4 separate regions of the Homo sapiens genome follow, and regions 1, 2 and 4 are each linked to region 3. Evidence: promoter capture Hi-C in 16 types of primary human blood cells and fetal thymus (Javierre and others, 2016). All regions are on one chromosome and are shown on one strand. Each heading gives the region's core, a stretch centred on a gene start or on the middle of the fragment in contact. The rest is flanking DNA. Distances are from core to core; before and after follow the strand shown.

Region 1 (5,173 bases), core at 513-3,012, 1.0 Mb before region 3:
GAAGGAAGGAAAGAAGAGAGGAAGGAAAGAAATGCATCCTTCATACAATAAAGTGAAGAAAATACTTTGAAAGCTTTGCATTTAAAAAGTGTTCATTAAAGTGGTACGAAACTTAATGTTTTTGGAAAGCCAACAAGTGTTTATAGCACACTTTAGAGATTCTCTCTTTCTTTCTCTGTGTGTGTGTTGGGGGTTGTGGATGTGTTTCTGAGTCCTTTAAGATGAAGTTACATTTAAAATCTGTGGGATATATTTGCTCTTGCCTTGCCCAAACTGGGATTTCTTAGCAACCAATGAATTTTTGATTAAAAAAACCAAAGCAAAAACGAAACTGGGATTTCTGTGCTGTGATCAGGAAAATGATCTTTAAGGTTGTTGGAATTACCTTGAGCACAAGTGATCTCGGTGAGATAGGTATTGATAAATGTGCATTTGCATTTTAAAACTTTCCAAATTCGTAATAGGAGTTTTCTTTCGTTTTATTTTCCCTGCTGAGGATTCTGCTGTTAAGGAAGAAGAAAGTTTGGGTGCCAACTAAAGGAAACAGTGTCTGTGTTTGCAATGCCAATGAGCTTACCCAGGGGGAATTGTTAAATAGCCTAAGGATTATTCTAGCTCAGCAATCCTAAAGATACAAAAATGCAACTTTGGACATTAGGGATGGGAGTTTTAAAAATCTGCCCGAGTTCTAGCAGGAGTAAAGAATTGAGAAACATGAAAAATCCACAATGAATAATAAAATATTACTAAGTTAAATTTTCTCTGCCACAAAATAATACTTTTTTGTAGTATTAAAAATGGCTTAAAATTCAATTATAGAAATAAATTAACTGAAATAGTGAAAGTGACTCCTATTACACTGTCACCCCTCTCCCATAAAATACTGGTAGAATGTTGGCTTATATTTATTTGTTATTCTTTTTTATATAAGTTAATTCATACTACATAATGTATTGCAACATGCTGTCTCCCCCCACCTTAATAAATATATATCTTGCTGTCTATCCTAGCTAGTAGTTAATGTCACCACCTCATTCTTTTCAATTGTATAGTAGAATTCCACTTTAAAGCTCTACTATAATTTTAAACAGATAGTTTTTTGAAGATTCCCCCCCCCCACAGTTATTTTATTTTCTTCCCTTTTCATTCTCATCTGCTTTTCTTTTTCTTTCTTTTTTTTTTTTTTTTTGCTTAGGCACAAGTAGGAAAATAAAAAGCCTAGATCTGATTAGAAAAAGCTGTAAATAGTGAGATAAGTGCTGCTCATAAATGGCAAATTTCCAGTTCTGCAGAACAAACAGCACCATTCTCTCAAAAAGATAAAACAAATGTCTCTTTTGCATTTTAAGGAACATTCAGCTGTTACTAGTAAATGGATCAATAACTCTCAAATTCAAAAATTAAATTTCTGTTAGTTATACAGAACATTAAAATTGCTGGAGGAAATCAACCTTTTCATAAAAACCATAAAAACAAACTTTCACATTTAAAATTGGAAACAGAATACCTGTGCTCTTGTTCAGAAAGGAGTTTTTTTTTTTGTTTTAAATCTACAGAGCTCATCAGTCATTCAAAGGTCAGAGATAATAGGGAATGAGACATTCTGATGACCTGAGTCCAGGTAAATAAGAGAATATGACTGGAGCACTTTCACCACAAATTAGAGCAACAATTCCATTGTCCTTCTTCCGTCATTCTGTCTCATCTCTTTTAGCCTTTCCCTAGCCATGGCTGTCTCCCTGCATTAAGGTCCTCCCTACCGTATGCAATTCCACAATTTTTCTCCCAGGAGGGACAAGAATAGTAATTAAGATGAGCACCGATGATTCACCTTACAATACTATTGCAACTTATCTGTGTTAGCTTCCTCATTTCATTCCTTTCCTGCCTTTCAGAGGTAACTACTATTCTGAATTTTGTGATAAACATTCCTTTGTTTACAAACAAATTTTTAACAAATGTCTGCTGCTCCTAAATAATAAATCATTTAGTTATGCTTTTCTGAGCTCTCTAAAAAGGATATCTTATCATGCATAATCTTCTATGACTTTTTTCACTCAACTCTAAGTTTCTAAGAGTAATCTATACTGCGGAACATAGTGGTTGCTTCCTCATGTTCACCGCTATAGAATATTTTGTTAACAGAATATACTAGAATTTATTTCTCTTTCTTGCAGTTTTACATATTTATAAATTTTATTATTATGATTTCTTCTTCTATTCATACATTATTGGGAAGTCTGTTTTTTTTTTTTTTTTTTTTTTTTTTTTTTAGATGGAGTCTCGCTCTATCACCCAGGCTGGAGTGCAGTGGTGGGATTTCAGCTCATTGCAACCTCCTCCTCCTGGGTTCAAGTGATTCTCCTGCCTCAGCCCCCGAGTAGCTGGGATTACAGGCATGTGCCACCACACCCGGGTAATTTTTTTTGTATTTTTAGTAGAGACGGGGTTTCACCATGTTGGTCAGGCTGGTCTTGAACTCTTGACCTCGTGATCTGCCCGCCGTGGCCTCCCAAAGTTCTGGGATTACAGGCATGAGCCAGCATGCCGGGCGGGGAGTCTGTTTTTAAATCCCATTTAAATTAATCTTTAGAAATTAAAAAGTACAATTAATTAAAATTTCATTTTAAACTTAAATGTTTTAAAAATTAGTCGGCTATTGATTTCTAACTGTACTGCCTTACAAACAGATGAGTCAAGATCAGAGGTCAGTGAATCACCACCCTATGGGCCACACTTGGCCTGTCACCTGTTTTTCTACAGCTGGCAAACTAAGAATGGTTGGTACATTTTAAATGGTCAAACAACACAAAAGAAGGATAATATTTTGAGGTCTGTAAAGATTACATAAAATTCAAATTTAGTGGGTCTTACATTAATTGGAACATAGTTAAGGTCATTTGCTTATGTATTGTCTATGGCTGCTATTGAGTTACACAGTGGCAGAGTTGTGTAGTTGCAATAGAGACCACTGACCTCCAAAACCTTAGCTTTTGTTATCAGGTCCTTTACATAAAAAGATTTTTAACCCCTTTTCTAGATGATGCAAATTCTCAGAAATGTATTAAGGTATGCTGGTTAATTTTTACAAATATTTCTTATGGGTTTGTTGAGTATGTGTATTCTCTAATTGCTATATGCCACATATGTATTATATATATGATATATACATATATCGATAGATATAGGTCTCTATATAAGTAATCTATATATATATTGAGAGATAGAGATAGATATAGAGAGATATCAATAACTTAACAGTGGTTGAATGGGTGTTGAAATAGCTACACTATGATAATGAGTTTTTCAATTTCCTCTTGTAGATTTTATCATTATGTGATGACCTTTTCTAGCCACAATAATGCTTTTTTATCTTGAAGCTCATTGCGTGTGATGTCAACATAGCTATACCAGCTTTAATTATTATATAATTGATATATCTTAAGCTTTCCACGTTCTTATGTTTGTAAATAACATATAGCTATATCTTTAAAAACTGCCTTGACTCTGTCTTTTAACTAGAAAGTTTAGTCCATTTATATTGTGATTATTTACATGCTTGAATGTTTTTCTCCTCAGTCTTTACCTTCTATCTATGTGTCTCCTTTCCTTCTACATTTCTTTTTTCTTGCTTTTTTGTGGCTTACAGAGGAAGATTGATTGTTAATATTTGTTTACCTCTTATTCTTTCTCCCTTCCTCTACTGGTTTGGAATTTCTACATCACATTTCCGTTCTTTTAGAGTCTTTAAGATATTGTAGAGCATAATGGTCAAAACCACGTTCTCTGCTTGAATTCAAATCCTAGCTTCATCACATACTAACTCTATGATTTATTATCTTTGTGTGTGTGTGTGTTTACCTGTAAAATTGAGGTTGTGAAGTACCATATGGATCATTTCTGTTAAAATCTTATTGTGAATATTTTTCTTAAGGACACTTAAAATTAATATATTAAACTCCTCAGAACAATACAAAAACCTTAGAATGATTTAACTCTAATTATCCTCCTTCTGATTTGTAAGTTATTCTCTAGCATTTAAACTGTGTCTTTTAAGCCTCACAATTTCATATTATTTATTAATATTATTTTGTACAGACCAGGCCTCTTTATATTAACCCAAATGTTAATCAGCTTCTTTGTTCACCATTTTTTCTTGTATTCCAGTATTTCCTACTGGGTCACTTTCCTTCATCTGAAAGTGTACTTCAGAAGTTCATCTAGTGAAGGCAGTGAAAAGAATAGTTTTTAATCTAAAAATGTCTTAATTACATTTTTGTTCTCAAAATATAATGTTTCTGGACACTAAATTATAGGTTGACAGCTATTTTCATTCAACATTTTGAAGATATTCCACTCTCTTCTGGCTGCCATATTGCTGTTGAAAATTATTCAGTCTACTTGTTTTTCTTTTGTAAATAATATTCCCCCCTTCGATGCTTTTAAGATTGCCTTTCCCCTGGTGTTTTGAAATTTCACTGTAGTTTATATTGGTTTGCTTTTTTTCATGCATCTTATGTGATACATGTATATGTACTGCCTCTATTTCATTTTCTTTTCAGGTATCCTACTTGATACATGTATATAGCCAGGACTTCCTCTTTTTGTAGATTCATGTCCTATGTTAATCTGGGAACAGTGTTAGCTATTGTGTCTTCTCTTGTCTTTACTCCATTCTTTGTGGTCTCTCATTCTGGGATTCTAATTAGAGATGAGTAATATCTTAACATTCTCTATATTCCATATCTCTTAATGTTTATTATTTTCTGTCTTTTTTCACCTTCTGTGGTGCATTCTGCATAATTTCTTCATATGTAGCTTACATTATTCTTTTCAACTATGTTTAATCTACTCTTTAACTCATTTATGGGGTTTTATATTTTAGCAGTTATATTTTTCTTTTCCAAAAGTTCTAGTGGGTTCTTTTCACGTATGCCTAGTCATCTTAGATATTTATTTATGATTTTAATTTTTATTTCTTTATACAGCCAGATAATAGCTAATTAGTTTTTTTGCCTCATAAATCGAATTATATTTGTTTATTCTGCTAACACTCATGTCAGCAGAATTTTCTTATATGGCTTGAGATCTTTGATTATGAATTCCTATTTGGTTGATGTTTATTTGTGGGAAATTCTGGGACACTAACTTGAGGTTATTTTTCTCCAAAGAG
Region 2 (5,107 bases), core at 904-3,403, 1.1 Mb before region 3:
ATAAAAAGGTAAATTACTAATATTAGGTGGGAACTTGGGATACCATGACCTACTGGAAATTAGGACCTAGAGAGGAGACTCCAGGGGATGAATTGGATGAGAAGGCAAGTGAAAGCTGGATTCTTCCTGGGTAACTTCAGTCTCACACCGGCTGAAGCTGTACACGGGTTCACTGGAGAGGTAAGAGCTTTGTCTTGCCATGTCTGCCATGCCTGCCATGTCTCACTCTTCAGTGGAGGATGGCCTGCTACATATGAGATAACTGGAAAACAGTCTTCCTGGTCTGACATGGATTACTGGGAGAGATTAAAAAGATTTGGTGAGGGACTTGTTTCAACAACTATTGAGCACTCACAACATACCAGTCACCTTTCCAGGTAAAGGGAGACTATCAATGAAGCTGAAAAACATGCAACAAAATTTCAAATAGCGTTAACAAGTATGAATAAAATAGGACTCAGTAAGAAGTGACAAGAGATGGAATACAGACCAGCTGGAGAACTGAATGCAAAGAAAGGATCCAGCCAAGCAAAACATTAGGTAAGAGTGAACCAAGTAGCAGAAATATCAAGTGAAAAGGACTTGAGACAGAAATGAGGCCACTGTGGCTAGAGCAGGGCAAGCAAGGGAAATATGAAAAAGTCACAAAAGGTATCAAGAGCCAACTAATCATAAGAATTTCATATAATGGGAAGCCATTACAGATCTTAACAAGGAAATCACCTCATCTCTTCAAATCCTAAAGCAATTACCTTTCCTACTGTATGGAGTATGGATGGGATAAGAGCCAGACGAATGAGTAGGGGCAAGAGGGAGCAGTTATGAAGGAACTGAGAAATAAAGGTAGCCTGCCTAGGGTGGTAACAATGGAGAGGAGGCAAAGCACAGCTTCGAAGAGCCCACAGGACTTGCATATAGACATGGGCATGAGAGAGAACACAGTCAAGGATTTACATGTCTTTTAGTTTGAACAAGTAAGTATAAGTTAGTACCAGTTAGTGGAATGGGGAAAGGTTGAGGGAAACAGGTTTGATTTAAAAAATCAAGACTTACGATAGGTAAGTCTGAGTCTTATGAAAGGTTAAGATGGAGCACTCAACTATGCTGTCAAACTCTGGTGCTCAAAGAGGCAGACCAGGTAGACAACATATAAACAACGATGTAGAACCTATCAGAAGATCTTGAGTAACAGCAGATATTTTTCTTTAGACAACAGAGCTAGAAAGTGCAGCCCAGATCTGAAGTCAAGAAAAAAAAGGAGGAACTGGCAAATACAAGAGTCAGTAAGGTATAAAAAGACCCTGCCGGGCACGGTGGCTCACATCTGTAATCCCAGCACTTCGGGAAGCCGAGGCGGGTGGATCACGAGGTCAGGAGATCAAGACCATCCTGGCCAACATGGCAAAACCCCGTCTCTACTAAAAATACAAAAATTAGCTGGGCGTGGTGGTGTATGCCTGTAGTCCCAGCTACTCAGGAGGCTGAGGCAGGAGAATCGCTTGAACCTGGGAGGCAGAGGTTGCAGTAAGCTGAGATCGCACCATTGCACTCCAGCCTGGGTGACAGAGCGAGACTCCATCTCAAAAAAAAAAAAAAAAAGACCCAGGAGTGTAGTTTCATAGAAGCTAAAAAAAAAAATCAAAAACCAGGAAGTGGATGATTATTGAATGCTGCTGAAGGTTTAGTTAAGATGAGAACAGAAAAGTGACCACTACTCTTGAAAGTTTTGTTAAATTCTACTGTAGGATTCTACCATTACCAAGTGTGGTAAGCAGACTAATAACTAATGGCCCCCACAAAGATGTCTACTTCCCAATCCCCAGAACCTGTGAATATGTCATCCTATATGGCAAAAGGGACTTTTGCAGATGTGATTAAATTGAAGATCTTGAATTGGAAAGATTATCCTGGATTATTCAGGTGAGCCCGATATAATTACAAACCTCCTTATAAATAAAAGAAGGCAGCAGGAGATAGAGTCACATTCAGAATAAGAGATTAAAAAACGGACACTGCTGGACGTAAAGAAAGAGGAAGGAACCATGAGCCAGGGAATGCAGCTGGCTTCTAGAAGCTAGAAAAGGCAAGGGAACAGATTGTCCTGTAGAGCCTCTAGAAGGCTTGCAGCTCTGCTGACACCTTAATTTAAGCCCAGCAAGACCTACTGTGGACTTCTGACCTCCCTAACCGTAAGATAATAAATTTGTGTTGTCTTAAGGTACACATTTGTGGTCACTTGTTACAGCAGCAGCAGGAAACCAATACACAAAGGACTGTACCTGTACAGGGTCATTAGACTTTTATGAAACCTAAGGAGAAATTCCCTTGGTTCATAAATAACAAGCAACTTCATGATTCCAATCTGATGCGTACAGAACTTTATTGAGGGTAAATCAGACTCTGATTAGAGTCTGAGCAACTGCTGGTACAATGACAACACTGCTGCAATCCAGAGGTTCAGGCATGTAACAAGCTGACACAAAAATACTACCACTCTATGAAAGCCAATATGGATCACCAGTTGGCTCCCCTGTATTTCTCTCGGCCCTCACAGGTTGTCACAGCCTACAGTGCTTTCTTCTGGTTATCACAAATCCTCAAAAATTAATCTTATTCTTTGGTTGACTCATATTGCTTTTAAGAAAAGTTATCAAGGGTCACTCACAGGACTGATCAGGAGAAAAAGGAAGTTGCAGAGATGTTATTTATTCATCTGAAGTATTTCCAAATTACTCATTTAATATGCCCTCTTTGTTTTAAAAAATAAATTACAAGTCTAAACTCAGCTGATCCAATTTATTAGAAGGTTTTAGAAGGGCTTTCTGAATGCCACCCAAATTTAAAGAATGAGGTAAAATTCCATACTTCTTAAACCACTGCAGGACTATAGTAATCCCATTTTTATAAAATCCATTCTATCTATCTGTATATACATACAGAGATGCCCTAACATGCATTCATGGTCATTTGATTTTAATAGTTTTTTGAGGAGTGGTAGGATTTTAAGTGATCTTTCAGCTTACTGCTAAATTTCAGTTGATTTTTTTTTTCTTATAACTAGCATGTATTATTTAAATAATTGTTTAAAAAGGCATGTCAAGCACTTCTATCCAATCTGGGAATAGAGAAGGTAAATGAAACACTAGTAAAGGACATAAGAATTTCAAAAATTCAGGACAAGTAACTGAATCTCAATATTATAAAATAATGTTTACTACAGATTAATTGGCTTACCTTTTGCTATGGTTATGATACAGAAAAACCTTCTGGCTATTTCCACTTATAAAACTCACATTAGTAGTTTTTCCCCAAAAAAACCAAACATTGTTTTGTTTTAGAGGCATTTTATTTAGACAACTAAAAACAATTAGATGTTCAGAGGCAGTGTACAATGAACGAGAAATCAAACCAGTTACTTTATCATGTATTCCCTCTTCTTTACAACTGAAGCAAAAAAAGAAAAGGCATTCTGCTTTAAGATCAGAAAAAATCAGCCAATATAGTTTTCTTCTCCATATTAACATAAACAGCTACAAGAACCCTAATTGTAATAATAGAAATTGGATGTTGGCTTGTATATATTCATTAAAAAGATAACAGGCCACTGTACTATAAGAGGATAACTCCACCTCCCTTCATCTGACACTTGAGTTTTCACTTACAGGTAACACCAAGTTAGTTAGTTGTTCCAGCACTGGAGCTAATTCATTTTCCTCATTATTTACTGCTGTTTCTGCCTTAAGCAGACAGTAACTCTGGAAGGCTGATGCTTTTCTCTGCTTGCTTGTTTTAGTCAGTTGTATACTAACTGCACATATGATTGACGCTCAGGCCTTAACATCAGGAGCTGAAGGAAAGATGCAATCTGAATTCTCTGAAGCAATTTCTTCTATAAGTAAAAAAAAAAAAAAAAAAAAAAAGTCACATTAGTCAACTTAATGAAAGAAAGAAGCAAATCTACATTTCTGTGTAATGAAGGAATGAAAAAGTGTTTGTAAAGCATACTGTGGTAAGGGAAAGAAGAGAGCAACTGCACATGCCACTAACAACTAGACTCATGTCATTGAAAAGGCAAAGAAGAAAGAGTTCATGTGTTTTATCCACTAGATTCTCTTACACCATAACTCAACCTCCAAGGGTCCCTTTCTGGCCTAAATTTTCAAAGACTCCAGCTATATAACAAACCCGGAATTAAAGTCATGTCTTCGAAGGATCTGGCCCTCTCTTTTAGTGATTCAAATCCTAATATTTAGTGCTATTTAAAGCAAAACATTAACCATCAACATTGTTTTAGCAAGAAGGTGCTTAACAATAAAAAATTTAAGGAAAACTCTATTGGGTAAATGGTAAACACCTTCCCAACCTCCCCCAAAATCATCATACCCAGTTTCTCATGGCAGCAATCTGCATATTTCTTCCTCATGATACCCCCACTCATCAATCTCACAATTCTAACAAGTCTAACAAAAGACTCTCAACTCCATCTACCTTTTTCTGTTCTCATTGCAATACCCTTATTAAAAACTACATGATAGGCCGGGTGCAGTGGCTCACGCCTGTAATCCCAGCACTTTGGGAGGCCGAGGTGGGCAGATCATGAGGTCAGGAGTTCAAGACCAGCCTGATCAACATGGTGAAACCCCATCTCTACTAAAAATACAAAAATTAGCCAGGCGTGGTGGTGCACCTGTAATCCCAACTACCCAGGAGGCTTACGCAGGAGAATTGCTTGAAACCAGAGGCGGAGGCTGCAGTGAGTCGAGATCATGCCACTGCACTCCAGCCTGGGCAACAGAGCAAGACTCCATCTCAAAACAAAACAAAACCTACATGATCACTCATCTAGACTACAATGCCCCCTAACTGGTTTATGTTCACTCTTGTTCCCAGTCCAATTCTTTGTACGTGCAACAGCCAAGGCAACCTTTTTTTTTTTTTTTTTTTTGAGACAGAGTCTCTCTCTGACACCCAAGCTGGAGTGCAGTGGCGCAATCTCGGCTCGCTGCAACCTCTACCTCCTGGGTTCAAGCTACTCTCCTGCTTCAGCCTCCTAAATAGCTGGGATTACAGGTATCTGCCACCATGACCGGCTAATTTTTGTATTTTT
Region 3 (4,721 bases), core at 1,793-4,292:
CAAAGACAAGACTGGCCCTGCAGGAAAAACAAAGATCAAACAAATCCTGGCCAAGCCACAGCCACACTGAACGGCTTGCTTATCTCTGCAGGAAAGAGTGTGTGTGTGTGTGTTTGTGTGTAAATAAAACTATGGATTATAACTCTATTAAAAACTGGAATTCAGTTCCCATCAGATTTTGTCTTAGGCCTTTTTCCATATGGTCTTATGCTTAAAGAAATACTGGCCTTTTAAATTCATAATCACACATCAGCAAGAACTACTGTTTGTTCATCATGGATCATGGGCTGAGCTGATTTTGTAGGAGTATGCATTTTAAACAGCCCGTAAACTATTCGGGTTAAAAAAAAAACTCTCAAAAACAAAAATGGTGAGGGGCTGACTGAACGTTGAGGCAGGCAGAGTATGTGAGGGGATGCTAAGAATCCTTTGGGTAGTGGTGGGAGAGGCGGGTGGCGACAGGGCAGTTACAATGCCTCGTATCTTGTCTATGTTGCTCATCATGTAACAAGAGCTGGACAGATTCCTGTGAATCTTCCCAGGGGAAGGCAAAGGTGCTTTTTCTTATGAATGTCTTGATGTCCCTTGTCCTTATTTCTTCATCATTTTGGTAACAATCCCTCAGATGCCTCATCCCTTTAAGAAATTTAGACTCAAATGTCAAAACCATATATGCATTTTGTTCCACTGACCCCAAGTGGTAACTGTGAGTAGTAGTTCTAACAATGAGGCATTTTTTAAAAAGTCCTATTAATGTTTACCTATAATTTAACCTATAAGGATAAACCCATACCCCCATTGAACATGGTACTTTTTTCCATTTATTGTCTAATATGTGGCACACAGTAAATGAACAATCTCAATCCTTAAAACAGGTGTTATGACTTTTACATATGACAAAACCACAGAGTAAATAGCAGAACATCTCGAACCTGCCCAATAATTTGCCTCCTAACAGAGGTGTGTACGGCCTGACCTTTGTACACCTCAAAAATGGCAACATGGGAGAAGTAATTCCATCATTCATCCACACACAGCAGAGAGGTACAAGTACTAACAGAAGCTGATCTCTCATATTAACGTATGTATTTGTTCCTTGTCCCGTCTTCAGGAACCAATAAAAATAAAGTGAGCTCCGAGAGAGTGGAAATCTGGTTGGCCTCATTCACAGCTCTACTCCTATCACTTTGTACAGAGCCTGGCATAGACAGCTGTTCAATAAATACTGGGGACAAAATAAAGTCCATGTGGGAAAATGGGCCAGCCGCTACCAAGGATGAAGACATACAATATATACATATATTTTTGGGGAAGACTTCAATTCCGACTCACAGGAAAGATGAATCCAAAGATGTGAAATCTGTACTGGGATCTTTTTTGTGGGGTCTGTGAGCCAGGATGAAATTTGCTGAGGATGAAATAAATAGGAGTGTCAATTAAGGGCAGAAGATGATTACTAGTGTTAACTTTTCAATGTGGATTCCTGGTCTGAAATGTGTTTCCCCCTGCACTTACATATTTGGTCCTATCTTTCCTTACATGTTTATTAAAGCAATATTGTGCCATTAGGCAATGCAACTCCCAAAGACATTACTGGAATGAGGTCATTGCTTCAGGCTAGTGGGAGAATATAAGAGAGTTCAAACAGGTTATTTGTTGGGTAAGAACCCCTAAAAGCAAGAGGTTTTTGTTTTGTTTGAAAGCAAAGTCAAACCGATTCTCAAAGTGAATATGATATGATGAAGACAGGATCATTATGAAGCTAGAAACTTGACAACATCACTTTAAAAGCTCAAGCATATGTAACCCACGACTAAAGGCGCTGCAATGTTATGCAATATGACTGTCAGGGGAACGAATTTCCAACCTCATGACTCACTTATTGAACGTTTCCTTCATTAAAAAAAAAATATGAACATAAAAGTGCTATATAAAGATATCTGATATCCAAAGCATGAAAGCACAGCAGCTACTAGGCTAGGAAGAATCTCAAGTTGACATCGTGCCATCAGAGCCACCCTTCCAAGACGGAAAGTTACTCCACTTTTTGAAAAATATGGCCGCAGACACTTCCTGCCCCGAGCTCAGCTCGATCCGACGGTATCTTCCCAGAACTTGGTCCTGAGTGCTCACAAACTGGCAGGAGAGCGAAGGCTCTGTGAAAGGGAAGTAAAAATAATTCCGAAGGAGGCCTCACCGCACCGACTCTGCCTCCCCTTTGCCCTACTGACAGCGAGGTGGCTTCCACCCTGCCCACCTCCAGGCCACCCTCCCCTGACGCCTCGAGGGTGACCTGCGGACTAAAGCCGTCCAGAGTGGCTCAAGCCCACCCACCAGTGCCTGCTCCAGGGGTTTCCCGGTCGCCCCCCTCCCCTGGGGCCATCCGACATGTCCCCGCGACTACACAGCTCTCTCGACCAAACGATTTTCACCAACTTTATTGGCTCCCGCCGGGACCCTCGCCGCCCACCTCCCCGCTAGATGTCACCGGCCCTCCATGACATCCAGCACATTCAAAAGCATTGCGGGACGACCATGAAAAGGGCCTTTGCTGGGGGAGCCAGCTCCCTGAGGGCGGCGTCAGGGTCATTTGCTCTTCGTCTTCTGACTCTCCGTCTTCTTGGGCAGCAGCACGGCCTGGATGTTGGGCAGGACGCCGCCCTGAGCGATGGTCACTTTGCCCAGCAGCTTGTTTAACTCCTCGTCGTTGCGGATGGCGAGCTGCAGGTGGCGGGGAATTATCCTGGTCTTCTTGTTGTCACGCGCGGCGTTGCCAGCCAGCTCCAGGATCTCCGCCGTAAGGTACTCCAACACCGCCGCCAGGTACACCGGCGCCCCGGCGCCCACTCGCTCCGCGTAGTTCCCTTTGCGCAGCAGTCTGTGCACTCGGCCCACCGGGAACTGCAGGCCCGCGCGGGAGGAGCGGGATTTGGCCTTTGCTCGCACTTTGCCGCCCTGTTTCCCGCGACCGGACATGATCACCTCTCGCCTACAACTCCAGAGACGGAGACAAACCGCTCTCGGCGTCCGGTACCGGAATGCAACGTACCGCACCCGAACTGCCTCTACAAACTCTTTACGGCCGCGCGGCAGCCCCTTTCCATTGGCTCTGGTGACCAATGACAGGCAGGCTCCGCTCCCAACTAGCGCTCTGGAAGAGAGACCGCCTCCTCCAGCTCTCTCCAATCAATAGAGCAATCTCCGAATCCTCATTTACATAGCCGCTCACATAAATAACGAGGCCAGCCGGCTCAGTCTTTGGGGACCCAGATGAATTTAGCGGTTACGGGTTTTCCACGACCACGCTCGCTTCCAAGCACATAAACTCGTAGGAAATAAGAAAACATGGTTGGAAACAGAAAACAATCCAGAAGAAGAGCTACAGGGGTTGTCCGTAGACGTTGCTATGCTAAGTGGATGTTCTCATATAATACACCGTACTACTCAGGTAGGTTTCTGTCTCCGCAGCCCGTGCTGCTTAGGCGAAACAACAGCCTGTCCGCGGAATTCTGCCTGCCCAGGACAGGGTCCGTGGACTGTTTCTTATACAAGCGCCTTGCCTCCAGCTAGCTACCCAACAGTGTAGAGACCACCCTGGTCTCCCCGCAGGGTCCTGCGGCTCACAGCCAGCCAATCGTTCACTTTTGAGTCTGAAGCTAGAGTGATGACCAGACGTGAATGCTTCCTGTGCTGACGGGAGGAACAAGCTCGCCTAGCCAAAATATCTTTTGTCTTTGAGGCTATGGGCCTGCAAAGAGCCACTAGGTTTTATTGGAGAGGCCAAAGTCTTGGCCTTGGCTTGCTCCCCGCAAGCCAGGGCGCCACAGATCAGCGGATCGGGTCCTCTGCGAAGACGTGGAGGTCCCCCGGGTCTCTTTGTAAATGAGTCCAGAGACTAAAGTCAGAATGGCAGCTTATTCTTATATACCTGAATTGTGGACCCATGCTTTTTGAAACAAAAAGAGTGTTTCAAGTGTTTTGTTTTAATTAAAAATTACTTTCTCCTAATTCATCGAGGTCATTTCATTTTTACCTGAACATTTTCAGTAACACAGTTAACACCGATACGTGATGTAATGTTGAACGCTTGCTTTTTAAAATAAACATTTTATGTGGATTCATTTACATTTAAAGTAAAGCAAATTTACCTTCTCACTATCCGAATAAAGATTTGACTTCATTGAAATAACATTTTCAAATATTTATGTATATGTCATTACTGCCTAGAACAATGATGAACCCATACTGGGGACTCAATAAATGTCTTCAGAGCTATTGTCATGGTTTAGGCGGTCTTTCCGGAGCCAGTCTGCCTCAGCCTAAATCCTGGCTTTACCACTGAGCAGTGACCTTTGATAAGTTATTTGACTCCTCTACCTGTATCAAAGTGTTTTGAAAATTAAATACGTTAGTAAGCATCCAATAACTCTTAGATATACCAAATAAATGGGCATACAAATCTCTGATGCAGTTTTTAACGAGATGTTCCTGGAATGAGTTCTGTAAACTAGCTTAAATTTTTGCCTGTATCTTGGGGAATTTTCAAGAGTTTTTAAAAGTATTACTATTTTAGACACGATTTTTTTTCTTTTATTCCAATAAGCAAGAGATTTCTAATTTGAAAATGTTCTAGTCTTGATTTCTTAGAAAGCTTAACTATAAGTAAGTCAACCGATTTTACCATTACAATAATTTTTTTTTTTTTTTTTTGAGACGGAGTC
Region 4 (4,899 bases), core at 2,395-4,894, 1.6 Mb before region 3:
TATCCTTCAGAGTGTAGGTAAAGTAATTAGCTTAAGAAAGGATCCCTAAGTCCCAGGCCTCTGTACAAAGATGTGAAGAAATACAGCAAGCGTGTGAAGTTTTTTAAAATTAAGGTAAGTTTATCAAATAGAAAGTTGCTACTTAACAATAATTTTAAAACTAAAACATTCTCTATAGGCCTCTACTAATGTTCCCAGAATGAAATTTATGTATTGATGGAACAAAAGTCCAGAGAACTTTTTTTTCCCCCTCATTGAAAATCAGTATTGAAAGAGTAGAGAAAAAAATGGCAGCCTCCCAGGACTGTTGGTAGGAAAGTACACAAAGAAGTCAGTGGCTGGGAAAAAGGGCAATGGGAGGCCTTTTCTTTAAAAATGAACAACACACTGTGCACTTCACACAGAGTTTCTCAATCACGAAGAATGTGGCTTAACTCCTCAAGTCTGTGGGTTTGGGAGACTGGCCAGCACCAAGCATCTGACACACACCTGATGAGTCAATGAACCATCTCTCCAGGGTAACATCTTCCCCTTCACAGGTACCCAAGAGCCAGGTAATGAGCAGTTAAGGTAAGAACATTAAGAAATAGTAGTTGTTTATAGCATGGATTAAGGCAATGCTGTTGTAAACTTTTTTTCCCCCAAAGCTGATTTATCAATCAATTGCCACGAGTTTGCTGCACAAAACTGCAGCCATTATCATGGTTGGCTCTGCAGCCACAACAAAATTACTGAAAGCCTTTTACCAGGAAAGGTTGTCAGGAGGGAGAAGAGTGGTCCTGTATAATAATAAATAACAGGATGAAATGTTAAGTGGTTTGAGGATTCAAGGAATGAAGGAGAAATAATCAAAGAAAAGTAAGCAGGGAAAAACACTAATTTGGTTATGAATTATAGAAAATATTTACAATGATCAATCATGTTTGCACAGTGGTTTGTTTGCTCATTATATTCTCCATTCATTGGCCAGCATGGTAATAAGTATCTCAACCTCTCTTGCCAGAGACCAGAGCTCTGTCCCCTAATGTGGAGGTGACTTCTTCATAAGAGGACATGGGGTAGAGTGTCAAGTATTCAAAACTCTGGAACTAGATTGGCATTCGGGTGGATCTCGACCCTGCCACTTAGTAAGTGTAACTTAACTTCTCTGGGACCTCTTCACCTTACCTGTGAAAGGAGTTGAATAAGAACTCCCATTTCACTGGATTCTTGTGAGCCTTAGCTGAATAAAGTTAGAAAAGCGGGGGCCGAGCGCGGTGGCTCATGCCTGTAATCCCAGCACTTTGGGAGCCGGAGGCGGGCAGATCACGAGGTCAGGAGATCGAGACCATCCTGGCTAACATGGTGAAACCCCGTCTCTATTAAAAATACAAAAAATTAGCTGGGCGTGGTGGCAGGTGCCTGTAGTCCCAGCTACTCGGGAGGCTGAGGCAGGAGAATGGCGTGAACCCGGGAAGCGGAGTTTGCAGTGAGCTGAGATCGTGCCACTGCACTCCAGCCTGGGTGACAGTGCGAGACCCCGTCTCAAAAAAAAAAAAAAAAAAAGAAGCTCTGGGACCTGTTAAATGCTGTGTGTTTGGTAAATAAAAAACTTCCGACTTTGGCGCTGTTCTAGGCACTGAGGATTTTAGAATTTTCAAAAAGCTTTTGCATATTTTATCTCGCTTGACCCGAAAAATCCTGAGGTAGAGCAAATAATATTTTTTTCTACCTTTAGTATGTAAGGAAATTAAGGCCCAGAAAAGTAGTGAGTAATATGACCCAAATTCACAGTGGAGAGACCAAGACTGCAACTTAGTTTTCTCAAGTGTTTACCTCTGGGCTACCCACCATCAAGGCTAAGAATTCTCAACAGCTCTGGTCTTCTGGAGGCCTTTCCTTGTCAAATCTCATTCCTGTTTTCTACCCCTCCCCCCAAACCCCCGTACTATCTAGCAGAGAAGAATCTTCACTTCTCAGTTGAGGAACGCCCTTTCCCTTTACAGGCTTTTGGCCAAAATGAGCAAAGTTCTCTTCTCAGGATGAGGTGGCCAGCCTTTCTGCATCAATATTGTGAAACACATGAATAATCTGGGCACGCATCCCCAGGGCCATGACTCTGCAATTTTGTACCTTCTAAAACTAACAAACACTACACATGAGATAAAGAAAAAAGATAATTCGGTGGCCATGTTGCGGATACGTTAATCTGGAACTCTAGATGAATTCTAGCATTTCCTGAAGGCATCGTGGTGGCTGCAGACTCAGCCCACTATGTGGTCTCATGCAAAGTGGGGTTCAGAGCCCAGAGGCTGCAGGTGAAATGCTGGTGCCTCTCGGGAGAGTGGTGGGGTAAGGCCTTTCTCTGTGCTGACCTGACCTCCTTTTCCAATCTCAGGGATTCATAGACACCACTCTAAAACAAAGCGGTAGAAAAATTTTACTCGTCTGCCAGAGAGGGTAATATCCAAATTTGGACTGATTTGCCTTTTTTTTTTTTTTTTTTTTAATTACCAAAGATAATCGCACACATAGCCCTCTTATTTTGGAAACAGCAGAGGACAACAAAGTCCAGTACTATCCTAAGGCCAAGAAAAGCATATGCAAAAGGTAGGTGTAGGCTGGGACTCACAGCAGGCTGGGACCCCAGGAAAACTGGGCTTTAAGGATTGCTCACTGGAGGCCTGGGTGCTATACAGCAATGCTTGCGGGCACCCACTCAGCACTCACTGGGTAAGAAATTAGGGAGAAGAAATAGGGGAATATAAACGTGGAGCTCAGACTGCCACATTTCAAGAGAAGCAGAGAGACTAGAAGATTTACATGCACTCCTCTCTCCTCTGTCCCAAGCCAGCTAGAGCAATATATGACACCTTAATTCCCGAAAAAGAGAGTTCCCTTCTCCTTTTCTCCTTCCACATGGCTTCCTCCTCCAGACTGGGGAAGTGGGGCACAGGTGAGAACCGTCCCAAGGGGCTCACCCTTAGCTCTCTTGTCACTGGCTATAATATCACACAAAAATATTATCATCTAACCCACATCCTCTTGTTTCGATAGCTAGCATTATTAGCAGTAGTATTATTTAGTATTATTTTAAAACTTGCTGATGTTTCTCCTATCAAAGTGAACTCAGAAGAGCAAATCCTGCCTTACAATAGGCATAAAGGCCACTATGCCCATGAAACCTGAGACATCGCAGGCTTTTGCACTCTTGGGGAGAACAGCAGTCGTTCAAACTACAGGCATTTCCTCCATTACTACACGTGCCTTTTCCTCCTTCCCCAGAGTTCAAGGGACCCTTTCAAACAGGAGGTTACTTTGACTTGAAAAGGCTAAGTTTGGAAATCATCACTCAAGCATGAAAAGACTCTCTCGTTTCATTCCTGGAGTTTGAGAAATGGGAAAACTTACCCGCACGGGGACAGAAATACAATTCCCTTTCAAAAGCGATCGATTGAAAAGCTAAGTTTAGCTGCTAAGTGGAGCCAAGCACTTCCAGCTGGCAGAGACCCCCCCAAGTCTTCCATCTGCCACCCACCCTGGCCCTCCCTGCCTGCCACCCTTTGCATGCGGTCCCCTTCTCCCCTCCCAGTACGCACGGTGAGGCCGAGGAGGAGGAAGCAGCAAGCCTGTCCCGCCGCCGGGTCGCGCGCAATGCAGGGACTGTGGCCGCGCGGGCCGGACGCAGGCACCGCCCCTCTCCAGTTAATCTCCTGTTAATTAGCCCTCCCACGTTTAAAGCCCGACCCCAACCTCGCCAAACCCCTCCTCTAAATCACCTGATTTACCCGCCCACAGTAACCATCGCCTGCTGATTCCCTTTGAGCCCTTCTATTTGGCGCCCTTAGAAACTCTGGTTCCTGAAATGCCAACTCCCCTAATCAGTGGGAAGGGGGACAGTAGCCATTGTCTAGGAACTCTGAATTCTCGAACATTTCAGGATCAGCAGAGTTTTGGAAGTTGTTTTTAAAAACTTCGCAGAAAGTTAAAATCTCCAGGGTAGAACTAATTAGCAGGCATTGACAATATTACCTTCCCTTAGACTTCACCTCCCCTGCGCTGGTGGCAAGGCCTCCTTAAAAGGCTGACAATGACAGAATGTAACCCTCAGTAAAGATCACTTACGGTGTTCCAAATTCATGATACCAGACAATTTGCTTTGTCACGATGTCCCCTCCTGTTCAGGGTCCAGAATGAAATTGGAGGCAATTGTACTGGATCAGCTCATTACACAATCAGCTTAGTGTGTTTTTTACAGGGAGGTTTAGAGGAACGTTTACGGAAGCCGTAGATATTTAGCCTACCATCACTATCTAGATTAGGGATACTTCCAAGCTTCCTAGTCCCCATAGTCCCCACAATATTTATGGATCTATCTTTCATGGGTTTATATGAGAAATGTTTAAGGATTTCTGTTTTCAATCTATATTATTTCTCTCCTAGTGCTATATCTCAGACACTCACCACCTGTTGCAAGGTCTACTTCCTTTTTTTGCTCTTAATTTACTCCTTTAGGCTTTAAAGGATATCCCTAGGACTAACTTTCTAGGATGTGATGGACAAGTTCATGTTCTATTAAAGAAAGAAATAACTACCAGTTTGCTCTAGGAACAGAAATTAATCCAAGGAAGGTCTGAGAATGATTTCTATATAAGCATAACAGTAGGAGTTTTGGAAAATCTAGCATCAGAAGGCATCTGTTCTTCACTTTTATGTCTGTATCTTTTCAAAACTCTACTTATTCACCTATCTTTGTAAAGTATACTAGAATCTGTCTGTAACATTAACTGGAATAGGATAGAATTTGAGATGACATAAATCTATTCTGAATTCTCTCCAAAGGAGTTTGGTATTATAAGAATTTAAGACTCTCTTCATTTATTATAAGGTGATACAGGCCAAATCTTATGGATAACATGG

The links. The method cuts DNA at HindIII sites, captures the fragments that hold promoters and counts their contacts. A CHiCAGO score of 5 or more calls a contact.
Region 1: a contact is called between a fragment that was not itself captured here and the fragment with the promoter of H2AJ in region 3, in 1 of 17 cell types (fetal thymus). The highest score is 5.7, in fetal thymus.
Region 2: a contact is called between a fragment that was not itself captured here and the fragment with the promoter of H2AJ in region 3, in 6 of 17 cell types (total CD4 T cells, erythroblasts, naive CD4 T cells and 3 more). The highest score is 7.4, in total CD4 T cells.
Region 4: a contact is called between the fragment with the promoter of MGST1 here and the fragment with the promoter of H2AJ in region 3, in 1 of 17 cell types (M0 macrophages). The highest score is 6.3, in M0 macrophages.

Annotation. Positions count from the first base shown.
Region 1 is chr12:15,794,470-15,799,642 of GRCh38, reverse strand. No RefSeq gene overlaps it. Among named protein-coding and RNA genes, the nearest start is that of EPS8, 7.7 kb to the right of the region's middle. The HindIII fragment of the contact is 3,373 bases long and covers 76-3,448 here.
Region 2 is chr12:15,901,699-15,906,805 of GRCh38, reverse strand. It overlaps STRAP (serine/threonine kinase receptor associated protein), which reads right to left. Exons shown (of 10, transcript NM_007178.4): 10 at 3,328-3,889. The coding sequence ends at 3,828. Among named protein-coding and RNA genes, the nearest start is that of DERA, 7.1 kb to the left of the region's middle. The HindIII fragment of the contact is 6,674 bases long and covers 1-5,107 here.
Region 3 is chr12:14,772,726-14,777,446 of GRCh38, reverse strand. H2AJ (H2A.J histone) reads right to left here and starts at 3,042. Exons shown (of 1, transcript NM_177925.5): 1 at 2,423-3,042. The coding sequence starts at 2,976. The coding sequence ends at 2,587. RefSeq lists enhancers at 1,932-2,081, 1,788-2,704, 2,592-2,751, 2,762-3,091, 3,282-3,491 and 1 more. The HindIII fragment of the contact is 5,193 bases long and covers 1-4,653 here.
Region 4 is chr12:16,346,390-16,351,288 of GRCh38, reverse strand. MGST1 (microsomal glutathione S-transferase 1) reads right to left here and starts at 3,644. Exons shown (of 4, transcript NM_020300.5): 1 at 3,579-3,644. RefSeq lists enhancers at 1,765-2,694, 3,625-4,554. The HindIII fragment of the contact is 2,670 bases long and covers 1,647-4,316 here.